Linked DNA regions of Homo sapiens: regions 1, 2, 3, 4, 6 and 7 are each linked to region 5. The links are contacts of gene promoters, found by promoter capture Hi-C in blood cells and fetal thymus (Javierre and others, 2016). All regions are on one chromosome and are shown on one strand. Each heading gives the region's core, a stretch centred on a gene start or on the middle of the fragment in contact. The rest is flanking DNA. Distances are from core to core; before and after follow the strand shown.

Region 1 (3,401 bases), core at 707-3,206, 2.6 Mb before region 5:
GGTAGCTGGGCATGGTTTCATGCACCTGTGGTCCCAGCTACTTGGGAGGCTGAGGCAGGAGCCCAGGAGATTAAGGCTGCAGTGAGCTATGGTTGTGGTTGTGAATAGCCACTGCACTCTAGCCTGGCCAACAGAGCAAGACTTTGTCCTAAAAAACAAAAACAACAACAAAAAACCCAAGAAACAAAACAAACAAAGAATAGAAAGGAAGAAAAAAAAAAGAAAGAGAAACAAAGCTATATATAGGCTCAAGGACTAGCCATCCACATGCTGATGTTGAAGGGCCCCACGTGTTCCCATCTGTGACGGGGACTATTGGTTTCCTACCCAAAGCTATTTTCGTCTCCTTTTTACCATATAATAGAGCACAGCTTCAGTAATACTGCCAGGAAGTATAGGGGCAAAGCTTGTAAAACGAAGGTTGATAACTTTGGTCCCAAGTTGGTAACTTATTCTCTCATGGCCTTTCTCTGCTAATAATTTTTAAAATGGCTTTTAAAGAGTTATCTTAGAATCTTTTGTAAACTTCAGTTCACTTTAGACTTTTTCTTTCTCTATAACATTCATGTATGTATTAGTTATAGTTGTCTTGATAACAAGTAGTTCCACTGTCTCAGAGGCTTAGCACATAGAACACTCATGCCATGGTTCAATGTGGGTCTCTGATTGCCAGTCACTTGGGAACTCAGACTTCCAGTCTAGTGATTTCATCATCCTCTAAGGCTTCAAAGTCCCTTTCTGGGCCCTAGGCTCTTGTCATTTGAACTATAGATGAGGCAAGAGGGAGACCGTTGAGGACTACACTAGGTATTATGGGCTAGGTCTGAAAATGTTGCACATCATTTCTGTCCAGATCTCATTGGCTGAAACTCAGTCAGGAAGACACACCTGGCTAAAGGGAGGCTGAGTGAAGTGATCTGATCCGTCAGTCTGCTTGTTATTCTGCACCTGTGCCCCAGTTTTATTCCCATTCTCCTTGGCCCTGCTCTTTGACACAGAAGACTGAGTCTGTGGATGACATTACCCAGAGTCTCCTACCTTCTGGCTTCCAGATAGGTTCAGTGTGAGAGGCACAGTTAAGAGATTGGAGAGCATGAGTTTGGAGTATTTATTGCCTTTCTCCCTTCCTGCATTTGGCTGTGCAGTAGAGTCTGACTCCGTTTGTGATGTTTGACTGTTCACAGCATTTAGGCCTCCATCCACCCTTGCCCTGCCCACCATCATACATCTGGGACTTCATGTAAGGAACTCCCCACCCCAAGCTCCTGACCTCTTGATGTTTGAACCCCACAGCTTCATGACAGCTTGCACCTGCCCTTCCCCAGAAGTGCTCTGTGTGTTAGTAATAGACTTTCTTTCTTACCCTCTTGGTGCATGAAGGAGGGTCATTAGTCTCCATATCTGATCTATTGATTGGGAGGAAGTCTGTACCCTATTGGTGGAATGACCAGAAAACAGGCTGTGTTATCTGAGAGCAGTTGGTAACCTAGAAGTGGTAATGGCTTTCTATTCTCGCTAGTCCCTGGGCACCTCAACTTCCCGGATTGATTTTCTTAATCCTTTCCATGCTTCTATATCTAGTCCTTTCTTTAGAGCCTCTTGAAACATCAGAGTTAGATTCTGTTTCCTGCAGGAAACCTGATGGATATGGGAAGAAGAGGGAAGTGGTCTGGTGAGCATTTAGTCAGTTGCTGCAACATTATGATCAGTGCCAATTTTTAAGTTTAATCCTTGGCTTTCAGCGAATGTGGATATATATGGTCAACATTATTTGTCTTATATAAATGCACTAGCATATATAATACATATACTGATGAAAGTAGATGGACTTTTATGAGGAACTTTAGTAGATGAGGGTCTTTTTCACATTGAAAAATTTTGCTTTCAGGCTTTTTTTGAGATTAAAATGGCATTTGAACATTGGGATGAAGACTACTCATCTGAAACTGGGCTTTGGCTAACTGGGCACAAACATGCTTTATATAAATTTTCACTGTAGGGTCCAAAGTAGTTCTTTTTTTATTTTTTTATTTTTTGGGGACAGGGTCTTACTCTGTGGCCCAGGCTGGAGTGCAGTGTCACAGTCTCGGCTCAGTGCAGCCTCTGCCTCCCAAGTTCAAGCAATTCTTCCACCTCAGCCTCCCGAGTAGCTGGGATTACAGGGCCATGCCACCACACCCAGCTAATTTTTGCATTTTTAGTAGAGACGGGGTTTCACCATGTTGTCCAGGCTGATCTCGAACTCCTGACCTCAGGTGATCCAGCCCCCCCCAAACCCCCTTCAGGCTCCCAAAGTGTGGGATTACAGGCATGAGCCACCACTCTCAGCCGGCCCAAAGTAATTTTCAGTGAAGGGGTACTGCTGTAAAAATGAGTCTGCAAACTAGATGCCCTTCCTCCTCCAATTCATCCTGCTGAGATGCACATAGATGTGTGTGTCTTAGAATCAGCTGATGCTGGGAATAGGTCCCTTGTTATTAAGGAGGAAGATGCCAAGGGAGTCAGGAGGAGAGAGGTGTGTTCCTACAGTGCTGCGTGGAATTCTGCAGATGACCTAGCTGCTCCTGTCTTACTGTCAGTTTCTGCAGTCAAATCAGGCAGTTGTAACTTGCGTTTCTCTACTTTCTTTGATTTCATATCAAGCATCCTGCAAATTGGTGGGCATTTTTCAAATTCCCTTAAAGTTTGTGAACAAGCATCTCCAAGGAGCACTTGCCATCTCTGTGCCTGATTTGTGTATGCTCACTGGCTTGCAGCTTTTCCCAGGTTCTCTGGTGTTAAATTAATAACAAATGATGTAGAGCTGACAGGCAGGTGAAACTGGGGAGAACCATGATATTAAAAAAAAATCTCAGTCTATTATGTAGCACAATGTGCAACACTTCGTCAGATTTTGCCTGCAGGTATCTTAATTTTGCTTAAATATTTTGCTCATATCTTTTTAACCCAGAAGATGGGAACGTAGCCCTTAACATCTCTCAAGCAGACTGTGTAGCATATGTTAGTGTGATACAGAATACCAAACTCTGCCAGCTATTTGGCATTCTTTGAAAAGGCACTAGATAAAATAAAAATAAAGAAGATAAAAATACTTTCATGGTGGAGGAATTGTCTGATTCCCACTCGAAGTTATAAGGCGCATATTTTGGATCAATATAAACATTATTTTCTCACAGACAGAGCTATCCAACTGTGACTGCCTCAAAGTTAGAGTACTCTTTGTCATTGCAAGTATTTAAGAAATTGGAGATCATCTGCCAAGATTCTTTGGAAATGATTCGTTGCAAGTATGCAAAATATTGGAAGAATACTTTGCAGTTTTAAACTACATACATTCAATCTGCTTTACATATTAAATTTCAATGTAATCTTTTAAAAATACTATGGAAAATTAATATACA
Region 2 (3,478 bases), core at 79-2,578, 2.8 Mb before region 5:
CCCACAAAGGAGCAAGTCAGTATATCCCTGCCTAGCAAAGCCCAGTCCTCCAGAATAATGCCCCTCACGGATAACCAGGTCCTAATTCCTGAAACATCTGATTGTTTCTTTATATGGCAGAAGGCTTTGCAGGTGTGATTAAATTAAGGGTCGTGAGCTGGAGAGATTACCCTGGATTATCTCGGTGGGTCCTAAATGTGATCACAAGTGTCCTCATAACAGAGGGGCAGTAGGAAATTTGACTACACAGCCGGAGGCGACGTAACAAAAGCAGAAAGAGATTTGAAGATGTTAAACTGCTGGTTTGGAAGATGAAGGGGCCAAGAGCCAGGAAAAGCAGCTCTAGATGCTGGAAAAAGCAAGGAAATAGACTCCCCCTCAGAGCCTCTGGAGGGACCTGCAGTCCTGTGGACAATTTATAGTCCAGTGCAACTGGTTTTGGACTTCTGACCTCCAAAACTGTAAGAGAATAAACGTACGTGGTTTTATGCCACCAAGAGTGTGGTGTTACAGCAGCCCTAGGAATCTCATATGCCCTCCCTGCTCCCTGCTCAAAGGCTTTGTTCTTCAGCTCCTCTCTTTCTCTCCTGCACAAGTTACTCATCACTCCTTCCTACTGGACCATTTTCATCAGTGTATAAGCAAAAAAAAAAAAAAAATTATCTGTATTTCACTTTCCATTCATCCTTCAGCTCATGCCACTCTGACTCTCAAACCTGCCACACACCAAGTCTTCTCAAAGTCACTGAAGATGTCCACATTGACAAGTCAAATGAACACTTTATGTTCCTCATCTTCCTGGGCTTCTCAGCAGCGTTGGTACAACTGCCATTGGCCCCATCTGCATCCACCGTCCTTTCTGCTTCTCTGATCTACCTCCTACCATCCCCACGTCACTCCTCAGTCTCTTCAACCCAACCTTTGATGTCAGTTTTCAGCGCTCAGCCTCCAACCCACTTTTGTTTCTCTGCATCACTCCCTAGGTGATCTCATCCATAGCCATGGCTTTAACACCATCTATATGCTGCTGCCAAAGTGTACATTTGCAGCCGAGGCCTCTCTCTGAGCTCTCACTATCTACAGGATGCCTCCTCTTGTTTGTCCTGCAGGTGTGCTGAAGCTGACCTTGTGCTTCCCTGCAGCAATCTGCTTGTCCTCCGATTTCCCCTCCTCAGTAAATAGTTCTTCCTCGCTGTTGCACAAACCAGAAACCTGAGTTGCAAACTTTGTCTCAGACTCCTGGCCTCAAGTGATCTGCCTGCCTCAGGCTCCCAGAGTGCTGGGATTACAGGTGTGAGCCACCACCCCCGACCTCTGAGTTGTAAACTTTGTTACCCTTTTTCTTTATTGCAGTGCCTTGATCCCCGCCTCCTACTCGATCTCCCCATCAGCAAGTCCAATCATTGCCATCTCTGAGCCACAGCTCCCACTGACTGATATCTCTCCACTGCTGCCATATCCTTCTCTTCCTGTCTGCTACAGTAGCCTCCTGAATGTTGTTTCCACTCTTAAGTCCTTCCCATCCATCCTTCATCCAGCAGCTAGAATTGAATCGTGTCACTCCTTTGCTTAACTTCCTTCAGGGGCTTCCCTTCACATACAGTCAAATTCCAGCTCTTTGCCTTGGCTTGCAAGGGCCTTCAGGAAAGATGCAATCTCAACCCATACCACTCTGCCCTCTGCTCGCCTAGATTCTAGCCATTAGGGATGATTCTAGATACCCTCCCAGCATTCCCCTTCTCAGGCCCTTGTGTGTGGTGCCCTGTGCTTGTTCCCTTCCTGTCTTCTGTGACTGGACTCCCTGCACCCTCAGGTCTCTTGCCCCCACGCCACCTCCTCAGTGCCTGGCGATTGCCTTTCCACATTGACAAGTCAAAGCCCCTCTCTGCAGCAGCCTCCCTCTGCCCACTGAGCTCTCACCAGTGCCATGCTGTTTAATTTCTGCATAACACTTTTTGTCATTTGATGCCATTTTGTTGCAGACTTAGCTGGTTAAGGTGGCCGTCTTCTCCATCAATAAGCTCCCCGAAGGCCAGGGGCTATTTGCCACATTCACTTCTCTCTCCCTAGCACCCAAATGCCTGGATACAGTTGAGGCTCAACAAGTGTTGGATGAAGGAACCCCTCTTTCTAACCACATCTCTTTCCCAGGCTCCACCAAAACAAACTGACTCACTGTGCCTGGCACCTTCTCTCACATGCGGCCTTTCCTGCATGACCCGGCCACCCCTCCACACAGGCTGCTCAGCGTCACTTCCTCTGAACTCCCAGCCCTCCCAAGGGACTGACATGTTGCTTCATATGGTAGCAGCCACACATGGTCCTGCTTAGATTCCCATCGCCAAGCAGCGTGGCTTCCAGCTCAGAAAGCCTAAAAGTGAAGATACAACTGAATTTGTGTACAGCGATGAAATAATACAATGTTCTCAGTAAAAAATTCCCTGACCTCCAGCTGGGGTTAGGCTTCCTGCACTAATATCTTGTCCTTTCTCCCCATATCCCTTCACAGAAGGGTAATTATTTGGTTGTGTGAATTTTGTTTAGCCTCGGACTTTCCCTCTAAACTGTAAGCCCCATGGCCTGAGAGGTGTTTACGTGATGTCTGGTACACAGCAGGCATTTAATACCTGATATGGTTTGGCTGTGTCCCCACCCAAATTTCATCTTGAATTGTAACTCCCACAATTCCCATGTGTTGTGGGAGGAACCCGGTGGGAGGTGATTGAATCATGGGGACAAGGTCTTTCCTGCACTGTTCTCATGATAGTGAATGAGTCTCATGAGATCTGATGGTTTTAAAAAGGGGAGACTTCCTTCATAAGCTCTCTTCTCTTGTCTGCTGCCATGTGAGACGTGCCTTTCACCTGCCATGATTGGGATGCCTCCCCGGCCACTTGGAATTATAAGTCCAGTAAACCTCTTTCTTTTGGAAATTGCCCAATCTCAGGTATGTCTTTATCAGCAGCGCAAAAACAGACTAATACGATACCTGTTTGTTGAATGAATGCATGAAGGAATGGATGAAAAGTCACATTTGTCTACCCTCAGAGGATGGCTTGCTTGAGAGAGACCCCCCTCAAAATCATGGCCTTTCCCAAGCAGAAAAGGCAATAGGTATGTTGGTCTGTATTGTTAGAAGTTAGTACTACTTCTAGCAAAATAGTATTGCTACACTGCCTTCTTTTTTTGAGACAGATTCTTACTCTGTCACCCAGGCTGGAGTGCAATGGCATGCTCTTGGCTCACTGCAACCTCTGCCTCCTGGGTTCAAGCAATTCTCCTGCCTTAGCCTCCTGAGTAGTTGGGACTACAGGCACCTGCCACCACACCCGGCTAATTTTTGTATTTTTAGTAGAGACGGGGTTTCACTATGTTGGCCAGGCTGGTCTCAATCTCCTAACCTCGTGATCCACTCACCTCGGCCTCCCAAAGTGCTGGGATTACAGGCGTGAGCCACCACGCCCGGTCTACGCTGCCT
Region 3 (3,174 bases), core at 318-2,817, 2.6 Mb before region 5:
GGATGAAGCTACTTCACATCTCTGTGTTCCAGCGTTTCAACTGTAAAATGGACTATTTCTAAAATAGTACTACACACCTGTAAAGTTAGTCATGAGGGCTAAAGGAGTTAATGTAAGTAGAGCACTTAGAACAGAGCCTGGCACCTAAGAAAGCGCTGTAGAAATGTTAGCATTATTAGTGGGCTGGATCAACCCACTCTGTCCCTCCATGGGGTGAGCATCCTGTTGGGATCTGCTGGGGCATTCCTGTCTGCAAATGGAATTGTGAGGTGGTTCAGTGAAGCTGCAGTTTCATTTAATTCCTGAAAAGGACTGGCACCAGGCCACTTTGAGCAGTGAAGTTGGTCTTCAGTAGTATTTGGTTCTTCCCATCAGTTTTTGAGTCTTATTCTTCTCTTTGTCCCAGTTGGCCAATGTCTTGCTGATCCAGATCCTGACAACAATGACAATGGGATGGGTCCACGCCTATCAGAACCAACACATACATAGTTCCAGTTTCTCATTATACTTTTTTTTTTTTTTTTTTTGAGGCAGAGTCTTCCTGTGTCGCCCAGGCTGGAGTGCAATGGTGCAATCTTGGCTCACTGCAACCTCTGCCTCCCAGGTTCAAGCAATTCTCTTGCCTCAGCCTCCCGAGTAGCTTGGACTACAGGCGCGTGCCACCACACCCGGCTAATTTTTTGTATTTTTAGTAGAGATGGGGTTTCACCGTGTTAGCCAGGATGTTTCATTTTACTTTAAATGTATCCAACCAAAGATCCATCCATCCACCCACCCACCCACTCACCCATCCATCCATCTATCGGTCCATCCGACAAACATTTATGGAGCAACTCCTACCTGCTAGGCAAATTCGAGGCATTGGGAAATGCTAGGAAATGGCATCATTTCTGTCTTCAAGAAGCTTGACATTGATATTGGGTTAATCCACAGGAAATGACACGAAATGCCGAGAAGTCTGGCATTTTGATAGGCTGCTAAGAGAGATATTTATGTCTTTTTCAGGGGCTATTTCAAAACCTTTACATGGTAACACGAAAAGCACCCTCTACTTATTTAAAGACATGATTTCTTATACAGGTATTTAAAAAGAGCATGAAGCTGGGACATTCTAAGAGCCAAGAAGTTAGGAAGGCAGTGAAAGGGGAGTAGGTATCGTGGATAAAAGTTAGAAGTTTAGGTAAAAATTGTGTGTCATAAGCTCTGCAGCTGGGACTTACCTGTCCTGCCCAAAACGAGCCAATAGTTGTGCACCAAGGCTCCTCAGCACAGCATGAGGACGAGGTGATGATCAGATCCTTCTTTCTGGCTGCAGGACCCAGGGTGCTATTGCTGCAGCTGGCGAGGATGATCACAGCACTGTCCAGACATCTCCAATGAGTAAGGCACCTGTCCGATGGTGCTGCAATGCTCATTCTATTTCCAGCAAGTTATTAGAAAAATGTGCGTAATCATTGTGTAAAATGCCAGCAGAGTTACCTTTGTGTGGTTTTTCTCACTTGAGATCTCAAAGTCAAGTCAAAATTCTTGAGGGGCTGTCCTTGTCCTTGGTAGCTGGATTCCCATCTCATTCAGTCCAATGTCTCCCACTACTTTCCAATGTGCAGCTTGGTTCTGTCAAGCTGCTCTCATTCTTCCTCACTAAAAATGACCGAATTCCCTTGGCCAGGTGTGGTAGCTCACACCTGTAATCCCAGCACTTTGGGAGGCCGAGGCGGGTGGATCATGAGATCATGAGATCAGGAGTTGGCGACCAGCCTGACCAACATGATGAAACCCTGCCTCTACTAAAAATACAAAAATTAGCCTGCAATCCCAGCTACTCAGGAGGCTGAGGCAGGAGAATTGCTTGAACCCAGGAGGTGGAGGTGAGCCAAGATCATGCCACTGCACTCCAGTTTGGGCAACAGAGTGAGACTCTGTCTCAAAAAAACAAAACAAAACAAAACAAAACAACCTCATTTCCACCTCGAGGCTTTCACTCCCCCTTCTCCCCCTTGATTAGTTACTTCTTTTTCCTTTCTCCCATACTTTTCTGGCTCCACTTAAAACTTCTTCAGTGAAGCATTCCAGAATTGCTTCACATCCTTTAATAACCTCTATTTCCCCCTGTGAATTTCCAGGCTACTGTGCACATAATTTGGATTACACAATTTAGTCTTTGATTACATATTGCATTGCAACGCTGGCTAGTTATTTTATGTGCTGGTGTGGTTAACTGATCGAGTAGGAAGCTTCCTGCTCCTTTCCTGCACATGTCCCGGCACCCAGCACAGTGCTGAGGATATAGTAGGTATCCAACGTTTGTACCAGTACATCTAGTATATACATTATTGCAGGTATGGATCCCAGCTTTTCAAAGTCTGAAGCTTATACAATTTGAAGAAGCCTTTTCCTGAAAGGAAAAGAAAAAGACTACAAGATGACGAATAAAAAATCAGGAGCCAAAATGAATATTTCGTGAATACATCGCCAAGGCCGCATTTTGGGGAAGAAGTCTTCACAGGAGAGAGACTCTGGAGCTCCAGCAGCTCTGAAATGGACAAATCTAGAGGTGTTTTTGGTCTTCACAATCCGTCTTCTCCATCTGTCACATACAAACTGAACATCAGGCCTCATTCTCTCTCCCAATGGCGAACCTTCCCTACCTTGGTAAACTGGCAAGGACCTCCCCTGATTTAGTCTGCGCCAGCTCATAGGACTGGGTGTGTAATTGCTAGGGAGGAAAATGGTGGTTGACAATTAAGCATCAACAGTGTCATTGATCTTTTGGGGAAGAGAAGAGGAGCTTGTAACAGCCAAAGTATCTACACATTTTTGTATTGTGTATTTATTCTATAAATGTATTTATGCCTTATATGGCATATGTCATTTAAACTGGAACAGGCAGAGTGTCAAGAGGCCAGGGCTGTATATTTATCATCTGAGCACGGTGCAGGGGGCTGAGCCATTTCCTCTCCATCTAAGCTGTTTTTTGGAATCTGACCAGCTGGTGTCACTATGGGACCGTGAATACAGGCATCTTCAGAGCTCTAGGAGTAGAAGAATTTTGGATTGGCGTTGTGGCCCTGGGAAAGGTAACCTTCCTCCCACCCAGCACGAGCCTCCGCCCGACCTCCTCTCTCCCTGTGCCTGCATAGTTTATAAAATTGAGAACTAGCGGACGGATTTAAT
Region 4 (3,489 bases), core at 378-2,877, 2.6 Mb before region 5:
CTAAGAAACTCTATATCCATGAAACAATAATTCACCCATTTCCCCTTGCCTCTAGGTCCTGGCAACCACGATTCTACCTTGTTTCTATGAATGTGACTACTTTAGATACCTCATATAAGTGCAGTCATAGACTATATGTACTTTTGTGACTGGCTTGTTTCACTGAATGTAAAGTTCCTCCATGTAGCATGCAGCACATGTCAGGATTTCCTTCTTTTTTAGGGCTGCATAATATTCCACTGTATGTACAGATCATATTTTATCGATTCCTGTGTCTATAGACATAGTTGTTTCCACTTCTTGGCTACTGTAATGCTGCTGTGAACAGGAGCGTACAAACATCTCTTCAAAACCATGCTTTGAATTCTTTTGGGTATATACTTACAAGTACAATTGCTGGACCATATGGTAATTCCATTAATTTCTTGAGGAAGTGCTATTCCTGCTTTTCATAGCAGTTGCACATTTTACATTCCCACCAACAATGCACAAGGGTTACAATTTCTTCATATCCTCACCAACACATGTTGTGTTGCTCTGTGGGATTTTTTTTGGTAGTAGCCATCCTAATGGGTGTGAGATGATATCTCACTGTAAACATGATCTACATTTCCCTAATGATTAGTGATTCCAGCATCTTTTCATATGCTTGCTGGCCACTGGTATATCTTCTTTGGCTAAATGTATACTAAAGTCCTTTGCCACTTTTGAAATCAGGATATTGGGTTTGTTTGTTGCTGAGCTGTAGGAGTTCTTCACATATTCTGAATATTAACCCCTTAACAAACATATGATTTACAAATATTTTCTCCTACTCTATGGGCTGCCTTTTCACTCTGTTGTCTCCTTTGATTGTGTCCAGAAATGTTTAATTTTGACATAGTCCAATTTATCTATTTTTACTTTTGTTAGAGGTATTTTCTGGCAGAACAGCATGAATACGTCAATTTCCTGAGATGGAAAATGTTGGCTTCTCTTAAAATTAACACTTAATTTAGCAGAACAGGAATTTACATTGAATTATAGTCAATTAAGTGAAACAACAGATTCATAAAACCTTCAGAGAAAGGTTTTGTAAATGAGTTATATGAACTATTATTAAATATTCTTTGAGGCTCCTCTAAGGACTAGATATAAAAAACTGTCCAGTGATGAACAGCATTTATTCTAGAAGAATTCCTTAAACTATAGAGAGGGCATTTTGTTCCGATTCTCAAATCACATCTGTCTTAGTCCACTTGGGCAACTATAATAGAATACATAGACTGGGTGGCATGTAAACAAAAGAGATTTATTCCTCACAGTTCTGGAGGCTGGAAGTCTAAGATGAAGGTGATGGCAGATGCAGTGTCTGGTAAGGGCTTGCTTCCTGGTTCACAGGCAGCTGTCTTTTCACTTGGTGGAAGGGGTGAGGTCTCTCTCAGGCCTTTTATTAGGGCAATAATTCCATTCATGAAGGCTCTGCCTCCAGGACCTAATCACCCCCAAAGACCCCACCTCCTAACTCCATAACTTTGGGGGTTAGAATTTTAACATATAAATTTGGGGAGGGGGAGTCAACCATTCAGACCATAGCAACATCCCAAAGTATCTGGAATATAGTGGTTCAGCAATCAGTAAAAAATGTTTGCAGAATATAGTGGTTCAGCAATCAATAAAAAATGTTTGCAGAATTGAATTTAATCTCTTTGAGTTTGCAAACAAAGTTAACATGATACATACTCAACATGAAGATAATGATGAAGACCTTTATGATAATCTACTTCCACTTAATAAAGAGTAAACACATTTTCTCTGACGATTTTCATTTAAAGACAGTCAGTCATTTTCAAAATGGTATATGAATATGAGCCCCTAAAGGTGGTACAGATAAGAACATAAAGGAATATGGACACAAATGAGACAGGCATGGAAGAATCAAAATAAAATTTGGCTGGAAAGGGTAGAATGTATTGGTATATTAGGGACTACCACTTAAATTTTATGGTACTCTGTTGAATGGAGATGATTTCTCTCCAAATATCTTCAGAGAAATCAACTTTGAGAAAGTACAAGAAATAAAATATCTTCATTAAATTTCAAATAAAATAAATACATCTTCATTTAATTTCAAGAAGTATTTAAAGACCTGAAACAATAACAGTTTTGTATATTTTTTCCAAAAACAGAATCTATATCCGTGTTTTGTGTTTTAGTGATAAAGACTGCTTTTTTTTTTTTTTTTTTTTTTTGAGATGGAGTCTCACTCTGTTGCCCAGGCTGGAGTACAGTGGCGTGATCTGGGCTCACCACAACCTCTGCCTCCAGGGTTCAAGCGATTCTCCTGCCTCAGCCTCCTGAGTAGCTGGGACTACAGGCACACAACATGACTGGCTAATTTTTTGTATTTTTAGTGGAGACAGCGGTTTCACTATGTTGGCCAGGCTGGTCTCAAACTCCTGACCTCGTGATCAGCCTGCCTCGGCCTCCCAAAGTGCTGGGATTACAGGCGTGAGCCACCGTGCCCGGCCAAGACTCTTAAAAATGTAGTTTTTATAAACTATGATTAGGTAATATTTTCTGGGTTCATGATATAAATAAAATCTTTACTACCAAAAGACAGAGTTTCACACACATTCAAAATATTCACAGATGAGAACTAATTATGTCTGACATTCGCTTCCTTTTTTTTTTTTTTTTTTTACAATTCTTTCTGATGCCATTGTCAAACTGTTAAATACTTCCCCTACAATTCCACCTGATTTTTCTTTTTCCTTCCATCTATTAAATTTTCTAATAATACAAAAAAGTTGAAAAAGCAGTAAAATAAACAACTATATACCCTCCATCTAGACTCAACAAATGTTAGTGTTTTGTAATGCCTGCTTTTTGAAATTATATACTACCTTATTTATGAGGCATTTAAACTTAGCATTGTGGTTTTATGGTTTTACCACTGAAATGGCACTTTGACAAATAAGAATTAAACCCTTTCATAATATCCTAAAAGGAAGAGTTTTAAAAATAAATAATAAAAACCTATACAGCCCAGTACAAACACAGGCAAGGAATACATGTAAGTGAATTTTTAAAAATAATAAAATAGCTAATAAGCAGTATGAAAACGACACATTAATAATTGTATTAAAAAAAAAAGCAAATAATTTTTTTTTTTGAGACACAGCCTCGCTCTGTTGCCCAGACTGGAGTACAGTGGAGTGACCCTGGCTCACTGCAACCTCCGCCTCCCAGGTTCAAGTGATTCTCCTGCCTCAGCCTCCTGAGTAGCTGGGACTACAGGTGCGTGCCATCACGCCCAGCTAATTTTTCTGTTTTTAGCAGAGATGGGGGTTCCACCATGTTGGCCAGGCTGATCTCGGACTCCTAACCTCAAGTGATCTGCCTGCCTCGGCCTTCCAAAGTGCTGGGATTTCAGGCGTGAGCCACCGCATGCGGCCTCAAACGAATAATTTTTAAATTTTCTTGTTTTGGTAATTAAATTGGGGTAGT
Region 5 (3,116 bases), core at 575-3,074:
GGGATTACAGGAGTGAGCCACCGTGCCCAGCCAAGAAAGATTTTGGAAGAGTGAATGAATACAAGGATTTCCACTAGACTGAGAATTAGTTTGTCAACAGCATTTCAGTGTCTTGAGAAGTGTTTACATTTGGCGTGGACAAAGCTGGCAGATGACGTAGAAAGTAAAAAGTTGCCTCTTCAAAGTTTCCCTTCTTGTTAAAGAATAAATCATAAATGTTAGAAACAATAGTTTCTTTTAAAGACTAACTTACTTCAAGCCTCCTTGCTTTGTGCTAATAACTCTGTTAAGCCCTATTGTATGTAACTGCGGGACATGCTCACAGGCCCAGGCACGTTCCAGCTCACAGCCTGTTTAGCAAATCGGGTATCAGTTTAAGATTATGAGGTCCAGCCCCAGCCAACGGATGCAGGACACAGCAGTAAGGACAACCCAAAGGCGTAAGGGACAAATATGTCTGCTTTTCCTTTGTTCAGGAGTGCTCTCACCATCGTTCCATCTGCAATTGAGCACCCTTTCTGCATAAAGTAAAAATTGCCTTGCTGAGAGATCTTTTGTCTCCATGCTGACTTTTCTTCGTGTCACCAATTATCTATTTCTAACAATAACAAGGTCTTTTCTGCACTGCAGTGACAACCAAAGCATCCCAAATGAAATCATTTCTGCAAGACCCAAACTAGCCTCTATTAACACGTACTAACAATTCAGAACACCAGAGAAGAAAAGTTATTGGAAACAAAAGGGTCTAAGCGCTGAAGCACTGTATCGCACTTGAAATGGAGGCTGAAGATTTGAGAAGGATGGACTATGCATCTTGTTTACCAAATGACCTACTACGGTGTTTATGAGAACTATACGAACCAAGATTTACTCTGTTGGGAGCTTGTAGGAAAGCTGTAATGTCTAAGACATACCTGAATCTCTAAACCTTATTAAATAAAACTTTTTTTTTCTTTGAAAGGGGGCCTGGCTCGTCCCCCAGACTGGAATGCAGTGGAGCGATCTCGGCTCACTGCAGCCTCGACCTCCTGGGCTCAAGCAATCCTCCCACCTCAGCCTTCCGAGTTGCTGAGGCCACAGGCGGGCGTCGCCATGCTGGGCTAATTTATAACATTTTTGTAGAGACGGCATCAAAATATGTTGCTCAGGCTCACTTTGTTTTCCCAACTCTCAAATGAAGGCTCTGGCCGGGCGCTGTGGCTCACGCCTGCAATCCCAGCAACTTTGGGAGGTCGAGGCAAGCGGATCACCTGCGGTCGGGAGTTCAAAACCAGCCTAGCCAACATGGAGAAACCCTGTCTCTACTAAAAAATACAAAATTAGCCAGGCGTGGTGGCGTATGCCTGTAATCCCAGCTACTCGGGAGGCTGAGGCAGGAGAATTGCTTGAACCCGGGAGGCAGAGGTTGCGGTGAGCCGAAATCGCGCCACCGGACTCCAGCCTGGGCAAAAAGAGCGAAACTCCGTCTCAAAAAAAAAAAAAAAAAAATGAAGGCTCACTGCTCCCTCCCCAGGAGGTGCCGCAACCTTGGCCAATACAGCCCCAGAGTTAGACAAGCAGACAGAGAAAGTGTGCAGGGCTGGGGTTCTGGCCCGGGCAGACGGGAACGCGGACACATCTAGCACTCCGAGTCCGTCAAGGCAGCGCGAGCGCTGCGCCGCTGGAACAAGTCACCGCGAACCCTAATCCCACCCCTCCTTACCCTATTAACGACAGAAAGCCTCGTTCCGCTGGTCCCTGAACAAAAACTCCTACCCTACTAGTACACAGCCCACAACAATGCACGCTGCCGGCGCTACAGCCCCTAAGCAACCGGCCGGAAGTCGGCCCCACCTCCTCCTGATGTCACGGAAATGAAGGGCTTCGCAGAGGATGTCCCGCCCGCTCCCTTCAGACGGGCGTAGCTGGCACCTTCCTGAGATATGCCTGCTTGCCCCCGATTTTTTTCTCCTTGCAGTGAGAACCTCCTCATGTGGCATCTTTACTTATTCTCTTCTTGGAAAATCCATGTGACCTCCCCGCGCTTAAAGTGTTTCCACGTTACAGGCGACTTAAAGGCAGCCCTGGAGCCTGACGTATAATTCGAGCGCCGATGCAGAAAGGAGTCAGGTGTTTTTTTTTTTTTTTTTTTGGTTTCCGGTTCTGTCACCTCCAGGCTGAGCCGGGCTGGCGGAAGAGGCACGTGCGCTGCTGAATGGAGCTGGTCGCTGGTTGCTACGAGCAGGTCCTCTTTGGGTTCGCTGTACACCCGGAGCCCGAGGCTTGCGGCGACCACGAGGTGAGATACCGCGTAGTTAGAGACAGTCGGAGGCGGGGCCGGGAAGGTCGGGTTTGGTTCCTACACAGCAGAGGTGAACATTGGAGCGCCTGCTGTTCACTGGATGATTTGATGAATCAAACCTAAGAGACTTAAGAGAAAAGCTAACCTTTTAAACCGTAGAATGGACATTTTATCAAAATGAGGCAATATCTGCCTTTTCTAGTAGACAAAAGGTCCACGGGACACAAAGGAAACCGGCATTTCTGCATACGGACAAATGAGTCGTAGATTGTGGATTTAAGGATCGATCCCATAAGTTGACAGTATTCAGAATTTAATGAAAGAAGATCTCGCTCTTTTGCTGAATTTCTGCCCTGGAATTTTACAAATTACTAGAACTAGATTAGGATAAATCCCTTATAGGTAAAGCGATACCAATTCATTATTTGTTGGGAACTTATGGCGAGCTGGGCGGTGGAGATGCAAAGATGCTGGAGGTATGGATCTTGCCTTAGAGACGTTGCCTACATAAGGGGTGGAGGACTGAGGAGACGCATAGATGGAGAGAAATTACAGCAGAATATGATATTACTAGATGTGTGAATAGATAAAAAGGTCAAATAAATTATCAGTAGTCAAATAGGTAGATAGGACTATACTCACGACTAGGAATCCGACCTCCTAACATCTAGCTCACTTTTATTCTTGAAGCAATTCTAAGCATTTTCTAGAAAATTGAGTACAGTACTTCTTTATGAAGTCAAGGCGTCGGTCTTTAATTATCCAGAAAATTTGGAAGTATATCACTTGGCCTATTGCTTTCGTTTATTTTGTTTCCTACTCCAGTTATTTGCTC
Region 6 (3,451 bases), core at 423-2,922, 2.3 Mb before region 5:
TGCAATGGGAGCTATAGGCTATGCTAATGAGGCTGTGGTTATAGATTCAGTTCCCCTGTAGGTTGCTTGACTTCCAGGGCTATCAGTTTTTCTCTGCTGTCTCCTAAATGGATAGAGGTTCACAGAACTGGGCCACCTGGACACCAGCCATGACTCCTCTTCTTTCCCAGTACTGATAATTGGCATGGGGCAAAATTCTTCATAAAGAGGTAGCATGTGTAATGAGATGGAGAAATATTTTGCTCGTTTAACACCTGGCTTTTGAATCCCTTTTTGGTCAAAGTTTCTGTGTTTTGTTTTCTTTTTGTAAGAAGTAATTCGATTAGCCTCTTAGAAGATTATTCTTAAACTGCCTTCCATGGAGGGTTAGTCTTATTAACATGAAGTTCTTTTTATTTCCAGAACAGTGCTGTCCAATAGGAATATAATATAAGCCATGGAAGCTACTTTAAATTTTCTGCTAGTTACATTAAAAAGGTGAAATGAGGCCGGGTGTGGTGGCTCATGCCTCTAATCCCAGCACTTTGGGAGGCCAAGGCAGGCGAATCACTTGAGGTCAGGAGTTCAAGACCAGCCTGGCCAACATGGTGAAACCCCATCTCTACTAAAAATAAAAAAAAATTAACAGGGCGTGGTGGCGGGCACCTGTAATCCCAGCTGCTCAGGAGGCTGAGGCAGGAGAATGGCTTGAACCAGCGAGGCAGAGGTTCCAGTGAGCTGAGATCATGCCACTGCAGTCCAGCCTGGGCAACAGAGTGAGTCTCTGTCTCAAAAAAAAAAAAAAAAAAGGTGATATTAATTTTAATAATATATTTATTTAACTCAATATAACCAAAATATTATCATTTCAACATGCAATCAATATAAAAAGTTGTTAATGAAATACTTTAACATCTGTTTTTTTATACAAAATCTTGGAAATCCAGTGTGTATTTCACACTTCCAGCATATTTTGGTTTGGACCAGCCACATTTCAAGTGCTCAGAGTAGCACATATGACTACTATCTACCACTCAGGACAATGGAATTTTAGAGCACTTTAATTCTTGTTCACCACTTGGAAGGTGATGAAGTTTAAAGTGCTAGAGAAAATCCAGGCTGGGCGCAGTGGCTCACATTGCCTGTAATCCCAGTACTTTGGAAGGTCAAGGCAGGCAGATCTCTTGATTCCAGGAGTTCAAGACCAGTCTGGGTAACATGGCAAAACCCTGCCTCTAGAAAACAAACAAACAAACAAAACAAAAATAAAATCAGCTGAGTGTGGTGATGCATGCCCATAGTCCCAGCTACTCAGGAGGCTGAGGTGGGAGGATCCCTTGAGCTTGGGAGGCGGAGGTTGCAGTGATCCCAGATCACACCACTGCACTCCAGCCTGGGTGACAGAGTGAGACCTGTCTCAAAAAAAAAAAAAAGAAAAAAGAAGGAAAGAAAGAAAGAACAAACAAATGAAGGAGGGAGAGAATAAAGGGAATCACCAGTGTGGTATGGCTGAGAAGGGAGCTTTTGGGAGACTATAGGTTCTGTATCTAACTGGAGTATTTAAGTTGTTTTATGGAGGCTGTGATTTATAATTCCACCACTTCATATTCTTAAAAAGCTTCAGTAAATCTGCATTGTTCATTAATGCCCTGCATAGGTGCATTATTTCAGATGAATTTAAAGAAGGCTAAATTCTGTGGCCAGGTGGGTGTGGAGTAAAAATAAAGATGGCTCCCAGGGATGTAGGAGCAAGTGGGTGGGAACTGCTAAAGCTTGTTTTTACGTAAGATAAGCATTTAACTTCCTCCACTCCTCTACTGTGAAGTCTTGAAGGGTTTATGTCACTAATTGTTCAACCTAAATAAACATTTATTAGGCCTGTTCTCTACAGCTGCAATTAGAACTTTTGAGAACCAGCTGCATTTTGCAACTTTGTTCTTTCTTGACTTCTGTACTGCTGCACTGACTGGTTCTCCTACCTCACTGTTCCTTGTCCTGTCCTCAAAATGTTCATGTTTCAGTCTCTGTTTTCCTGATCTTTTGTATAAACTCCTCTTCAGGAAATCAATTTAATTTAAGATTACGGACTTGTCCTCTATATCTGTGTAATTAACTGCTCACCTATGCTTTATTCTCATTTTTCAAACTGCTTGTTAGCGACATTGGATGCAGTGATATAACCCTGTAGTCATCCTAAGTGTGAACTCAGTTTCTTTCACAAATCAGTATTTTCCCTCCTCCTTTCTTTTCCTTTCAATAAAACTCTAATTATTTGTTATCACTATTTCTTTTTCTCCGTCCTTTCTAGAGGTTGAGTATCTCTTATGTGAAATGTATGGGACCAGAAGTGTTTCACAGATTTTAGATTTTTTAAAAATTTTGGAATATTTGCATATACATAATAAGATATCTTGAGGCTGGGGCCCAAGTCTAAACACAAAATTCATTTATGCCTTATAAATACCTTATACACATAGCCTGAAGGTAATTTTAAACAATATTTTTAATAGCTTTGTACATGAAACGAAGTTTGTGTTAAGTACTTATGTGTGGAATTTCCCACTTGTGATATTATGTCAGTGCTCAAAAGTTTTGGATTTTGGAGCATTTCAGATTTCAGATTTTCAGATTAGGGATGTTTAATTGTATTAGTTTACTTTGGTCCGTCTTGTGTATATAAGTAACTGTATTAGCTTTCTATTGCTGCTATAACAAATTACCACAAGCTTAGTGGCTTGAAGACCACACAGTTTTTTTATTTTACAGTTCTATAGGACAGAATTTCAAAGTGGGTTTTGGGTGGGTACAGTGGCTCATGCCTATAATCGTAGAGCTTTGGGAGGCTGAGGTGGGAGGATAGCTTGAGGACAATAGTTTGAGATCAGCCTGAGTAGCATAGAGAGTAGAGTAGAGTAACATCTCTACTAAATACATACATACATACATTACATACAAACATAATGAGCCTCACTGGGATGTAATCAAATGGTCAACAGTGCTGCATTCCTTTTGAAGCGGCTATGTTGTCTGGGGTATATACCTGGGGTTCGTAGTCTTGCACCAGGAAAACTTAGGACACAGACACACATGAAGAGTTTAGGGGTGGAGGCTTAATAGGCAGAAGAAAAGAGAAAGAAAAACAGCTCTCTCTATAGAGAGGGGTCTTCTGAGCAGAAAAGACCAGCTGGCAGTGAATGTGCCAGATTTTATAGTCCCGTTTGAGGAGGTGGTGTCTGATTTAGTGGGGCTTACAGATTGGTTCAATCAGGTATGATGTTTACATAGCACAAGGGGAAGACTGGTTGCCCCACCGTAATCTTATGCAAATGAACTCTCCCCTTGGCCAGTGCCATCTTGTCTGCTCCTTACTGTACACGTAAGGTAGAGAAGGGTAGATGGAGCCGCCATCTTGAACATGGTACTAGTCCCTAGTTCCTGCCGTCATTCACCCAGGGACGCTCCCAGCTTGCTT
Region 7 (3,442 bases), core at 419-2,918, 2.3 Mb before region 5:
TTTTCATATATCATTATTTTAAAAATAAAATGTAGTATGACTTTTTTGTAAGGTTTATAACGACAATATTATATATGCCTAGTCAGTTGGGACAATAAATGTGATTTTTAATAGGGATTGAGGTCAATTATTTTTTCCTATATGAAGTTATCCTGAAATGATACGTGAAGTAGTTGACAACACTTTCATTTTTAAAGGCTTATTCTGGGATGGTATCTAATGCATAAATGATATCAGGCTGTATAAGAACTTCAGTGATACAGAAACACCCGACTATTAAAACACGAATATTCCTCGTGACAATTAATGTGAACAACAGAAGCTACTTCCACTGTTTGTTGCTATCACTGCCTCCTCTTTTACTCGTATTTCCACAAAACTTGTCACTTAGCTGGGGCTCTAAACATCACTAAAGCCAGCAGGTTGGTAAAAACGCAGTTCTGCTCAGATTAAACTTTACTTCAATATGAGAACTGCCCATGCACAATGGAAGTGAAGGGTAGACCCCTGGAGAGTAGAAGAATGAAGGAACTGAAAAAAGGGACCTTTCCACGTACTTTTGAACTAGACCTTTAATACGTAAATATAGTATTGCTGGAAATGTGGTAGATTCCAAAATAAAATAATAAAAACAAAGTATTATCTTTTCTTTTTCTTAAGTCCAAATTACTGACTTCAGAAACTAAGGCATATAAGTGTTTGTTTGTTTGTTTGTTTGTTTGTTTTGAGATGGAGTCTCGCTCTGTCGCCCAGGCTGGAGTGCAGTGGTGTGACCTCGGCTCACTGCAACCTCTGCCTCCTGGGTTCAAGCAATTCGTCTGCCTCAGCCTCCCAAGTAGCTGAGACTACATGGATACACCACCATGCCTAGCTAATTTTTGTATTTTTAGTAGAGACAGGGTTTCACCATATTGGCCAGGCTGGTCTCGAACTCCTGACCTTGTGATCTGCCCACCTTGGCATCCCACAGTGCTGGGATTACAGGCGTGAGCCACTGTGCCTGGCCATCAGTGTTTTTAGAATACCTTATTTTGGTAAGACATAATTCAGAATTGTTACAATATCTAGAATGCTCATTGAAAATGTAATAGAAGTTTAATGTTTTTCCTAATGCTAGATGCCATAACATAGCCTATTAGTTTTAAATAGTATAAAAACATATCATTACTATACCTTGAATAAAAACTCCTCCTAGCATAACAGGAATCAATTTGCAGCACTTGAAGATGACTTGGGTAGGGTAATTCAGGTAGCCCAAGGAAGTGTTTGATAACCCCATAGTACCCACAGTTAGAAAAGCTATTATCATGTAGGTTTTTCCTGGTATTCTGTAAAAGACAATTTTTAAAACCTTCATTTTGGGACCCAATTCATACTACTAAAAGATAATGTGTTCACATTGTGTAAATGTCTAATTACTTTTCTAATTTCTGGTTACTATTTCTGGAAATATCAGTAAAAAATATCACTATTTAAAAACTGTAATGCTCTTGTATAAAAAAGTTTATAAAAATAACAATTTACCTTTATTTAGTCAATCATAAACGAGGCCACTCAATTATGTAAAAAAGAGTTTAGATTTTTACTGAAGGTATAAATGTTGACAAAAGGTTTTTTTTTTTTTTTTAACAGCAGTTCTAGCCACAAATAAAAACCATCTTAACCATCTTAAGTTAGAGAAAAAGAGCTTCTTTTGTTGTTGTTTGCTTGAGATAAGGTCTCGCTCTGTTGCCTAGGCTGGAGTGCAGTGGCATGATCTCAGCTAAGTGCAACCTCTGCCTCACGGGTTCAAGAAATTCTTTTGCCTCAGCCTCCTGAGTAGCTGGGACTACAGGTGTGCGCCACCATGCCCAGCTAATGTTGGCCTCCATAATGGTAAAAGGTACCTTAACATTTTAAAACTAATTTTTAACTCTTGAATTGTTGTTCTGTTTCCTAATGTTTCCATCTAGCATTAGGAAAAATACATCTATCCATTCTGCTAAAATAACCCAAGATTTTCTCTAGGAAAAGTTCATGTGATTTAAAACCCTAGATGTAATTTTTATTATAATATCTTATAGATCATCTCTCTATATTCTATGTTATAATAATCAACTTTTAAGATGAGGTATCTGACTCTCTCATGATTTCAAGTCTTTTAACTTTGGCTCTATCTAAAGTTCCTAAAGGAGATTCTTAATTTAGCATCTTCAGAATTTTGAGCCATTACTGTGAGCATATGCTCACTTTGACTAGATATTTAATGGTCTAAACTAATAATCTTGTCTACTGGTATGACGAACACAGACACAATCAGGCACTATTCATACTGATAATGCTGGAGAGTTAGATGTAATTTCCATTTTAGAATTTGTGTTCACATTGAAATCAAGGCAACAAAATTTCTCATCTTATATATGGTTAGATATAAGGTAAAATAATTTACTGGAAAAAGTCAATTAAAATGCATCATTTACATTCGATTCTGAGGGGTTTTTTTCTACTTAACTACTAATATAGTAGTTAACCATGAAAATCCACGTGGAAACAACTTGGCATGCCCATATGCATCAGTGTAAATGCGTTCATGCCATCCATGGGGTTTGACCCTCATTGGGATATCATCAGTGATGGTGGAGCACCACTTCGCCAGGTAAAATGATACAAGTCAAGGTGGTCAGATTTTCTCAAAGATAAATGGCAAATCATTGGCAGAAAATAAAAATTCAAGTCAGAAGAATTACAAGGAATGAGTAGAAAAGTAGCACAGTACAGGTAGAAAGAAAACCAGCCTGACAGGGGAACTAAATCCAAAAGTAGCTCCAAAAGGAGCTCAAAAAATTCTGAGCAGTCCTCTAGGTCTTTGTTTTCTCATTGGTATAATGAAGAAATTAGATTTGATCAGCTTGCCTCCAGGATACTCACTATTTCTATTTTATTTAATACATCAATTGCTTGCTTCCTTAGAAATGGGGAGAAAATTTTTTTTTTGAGACGGAGTCTCGCTCTTGTTGCCCAGGCTGGAGTGCAGTGGCGCCATCTTGGCTCACTGCAACCTCCGCCTCCCAGGTTCAAACCATTCTCCTGCCTCAGCCTCCTGACCTCCTGAGTAGCTAGGATTACAAGTGCCCGCCACCATGTCCAGCTAATTTTATATTTTTAGTAGAGACGGGGTTTCACCATGTTGGCCAGGCTGGTCTCGAACTCCTAACCTCAGGTGATCAACCTGCCTCGGCCTCCCAAAGTGCTAGGATTACAGGCGTGAGCCACTGCACCTGGCCGGGGAGAAAATTTTAACTTTAAAAACCTCTTCAAGACAAATCTGAGCACTCTCCTTAATTAGAAACTTATACTAATTAATAATAATGTTACAAGGTATTCTTTGATGAAAAATAATAAGCAGTATATTTAGGATATTACAGTTTATGATGTACTTTAGCACGCATTACCACATATGAGC

What was found. Contacts are between HindIII fragments. The CHiCAGO score rates a contact against its expected background, and 5 or more counts as called.
Region 1: a fragment that was not itself captured here is called in contact with the fragment with the promoter of C6orf52 in region 5 in 4 of 17 cell types (activated CD4 T cells, naive CD8 T cells, total CD4 T cells and 1 more); the score reaches 7.6 in activated CD4 T cells.
Region 2: a fragment that was not itself captured here is called in contact with the fragment with the promoter of C6orf52 in region 5 in 1 of 17 cell types (non-activated CD4 T cells); the score reaches 5.9 in non-activated CD4 T cells.
Region 3: a contact is called between a fragment that was not itself captured here and the fragment with the promoter of C6orf52 in region 5, in 1 of 17 cell types (naive CD4 T cells). The highest score is 6.4, in naive CD4 T cells.
Region 4: a contact is called between a fragment that was not itself captured here and the fragment with the promoter of C6orf52 in region 5, in 1 of 17 cell types (total CD4 T cells). The highest score is 6.6, in total CD4 T cells.
Region 6: a contact is called between a fragment that was not itself captured here and the fragment with the promoter of C6orf52 in region 5, in 2 of 17 cell types (naive CD8 T cells and activated CD4 T cells). The highest score is 9.0, in naive CD8 T cells.
Region 7: a contact is called between a fragment that was not itself captured here and the fragment with the promoter of C6orf52 in region 5, in 1 of 17 cell types (non-activated CD4 T cells). The highest score is 5.4, in non-activated CD4 T cells.

The regions. Positions count from the first base shown.
Region 1 is chr6:8,110,226-8,113,626 of GRCh38, forward strand. No RefSeq gene overlaps it. Among named protein-coding and RNA genes, the nearest start is that of EEF1E1-BLOC1S5, 9.3 kb to the left of the region's middle. The HindIII fragment of the contact is 3,104 bases long and covers 405-3,401 here.
Region 2 is chr6:7,913,382-7,916,859 of GRCh38, forward strand. The region is part of intron 4 of BLOC1S5-TXNDC5 (BLOC1S5-TXNDC5 readthrough (NMD candidate)); the gene reads right to left. Among named protein-coding and RNA genes, the nearest start is that of TXNDC5, 4.3 kb to the left of the region's middle. The HindIII fragment of the contact is 5,683 bases long and covers 1-3,478 here.
Region 3 is chr6:8,128,460-8,131,633 of GRCh38, forward strand. No RefSeq gene overlaps it. Among named protein-coding and RNA genes, the nearest start is that of EEF1E1-BLOC1S5, 27 kb to the left of the region's middle. RefSeq lists an enhancer at 2,883-2,932. The HindIII fragment of the contact is 1,330 bases long and covers 903-2,232 here.
Region 4 is chr6:8,090,662-8,094,150 of GRCh38, forward strand. All of the region lies in intron 2 of EEF1E1 (eukaryotic translation elongation factor 1 epsilon 1), which reads right to left. All of the region lies in intron 2 of EEF1E1-BLOC1S5 (EEF1E1-BLOC1S5 readthrough (NMD candidate)), which reads right to left. Among named protein-coding and RNA genes, the nearest start is that of EEF1E1, 10 kb to the right of the region's middle. The HindIII fragment of the contact is 8,691 bases long and covers 1-3,489 here.
Region 5 is chr6:10,692,792-10,695,907 of GRCh38, forward strand. It overlaps C6orf52 (chromosome 6 open reading frame 52), which reads right to left and starts at 1,825. Exons shown (of 5, transcript NM_001145020.3): 1 at 1,703-1,825. It overlaps PAK1IP1 (PAK1 interacting protein 1), which reads left to right and starts at 2,181. Exons shown (of 10, transcript NM_017906.3): 1 at 2,181-2,278. The coding sequence starts at 2,195. RefSeq lists enhancers at 1,739-1,788, 1,797-2,399, 1,829-2,208. The HindIII fragment of the contact is 16,030 bases long and covers 1-3,116 here.
Region 6 is chr6:8,440,598-8,444,048 of GRCh38, forward strand. All of the region lies in intron 2 of LOC100506207 (a long non-coding RNA gene), which reads left to right. Among named protein-coding and RNA genes, the nearest start is that of SLC35B3, 6.8 kb to the left of the region's middle. The HindIII fragment of the contact is 154 bases long and covers 1,596-1,749 here.
Region 7 is chr6:8,421,297-8,424,738 of GRCh38, forward strand. SLC35B3 (solute carrier family 35 member B3) reads right to left here. Exons shown (of 10, transcript NM_001370479.2): 4 at 1,174-1,328. Among named protein-coding and RNA genes, the nearest start is that of SLC35B3, 13 kb to the right of the region's middle. The HindIII fragment of the contact is 4,738 bases long and covers 1-3,442 here.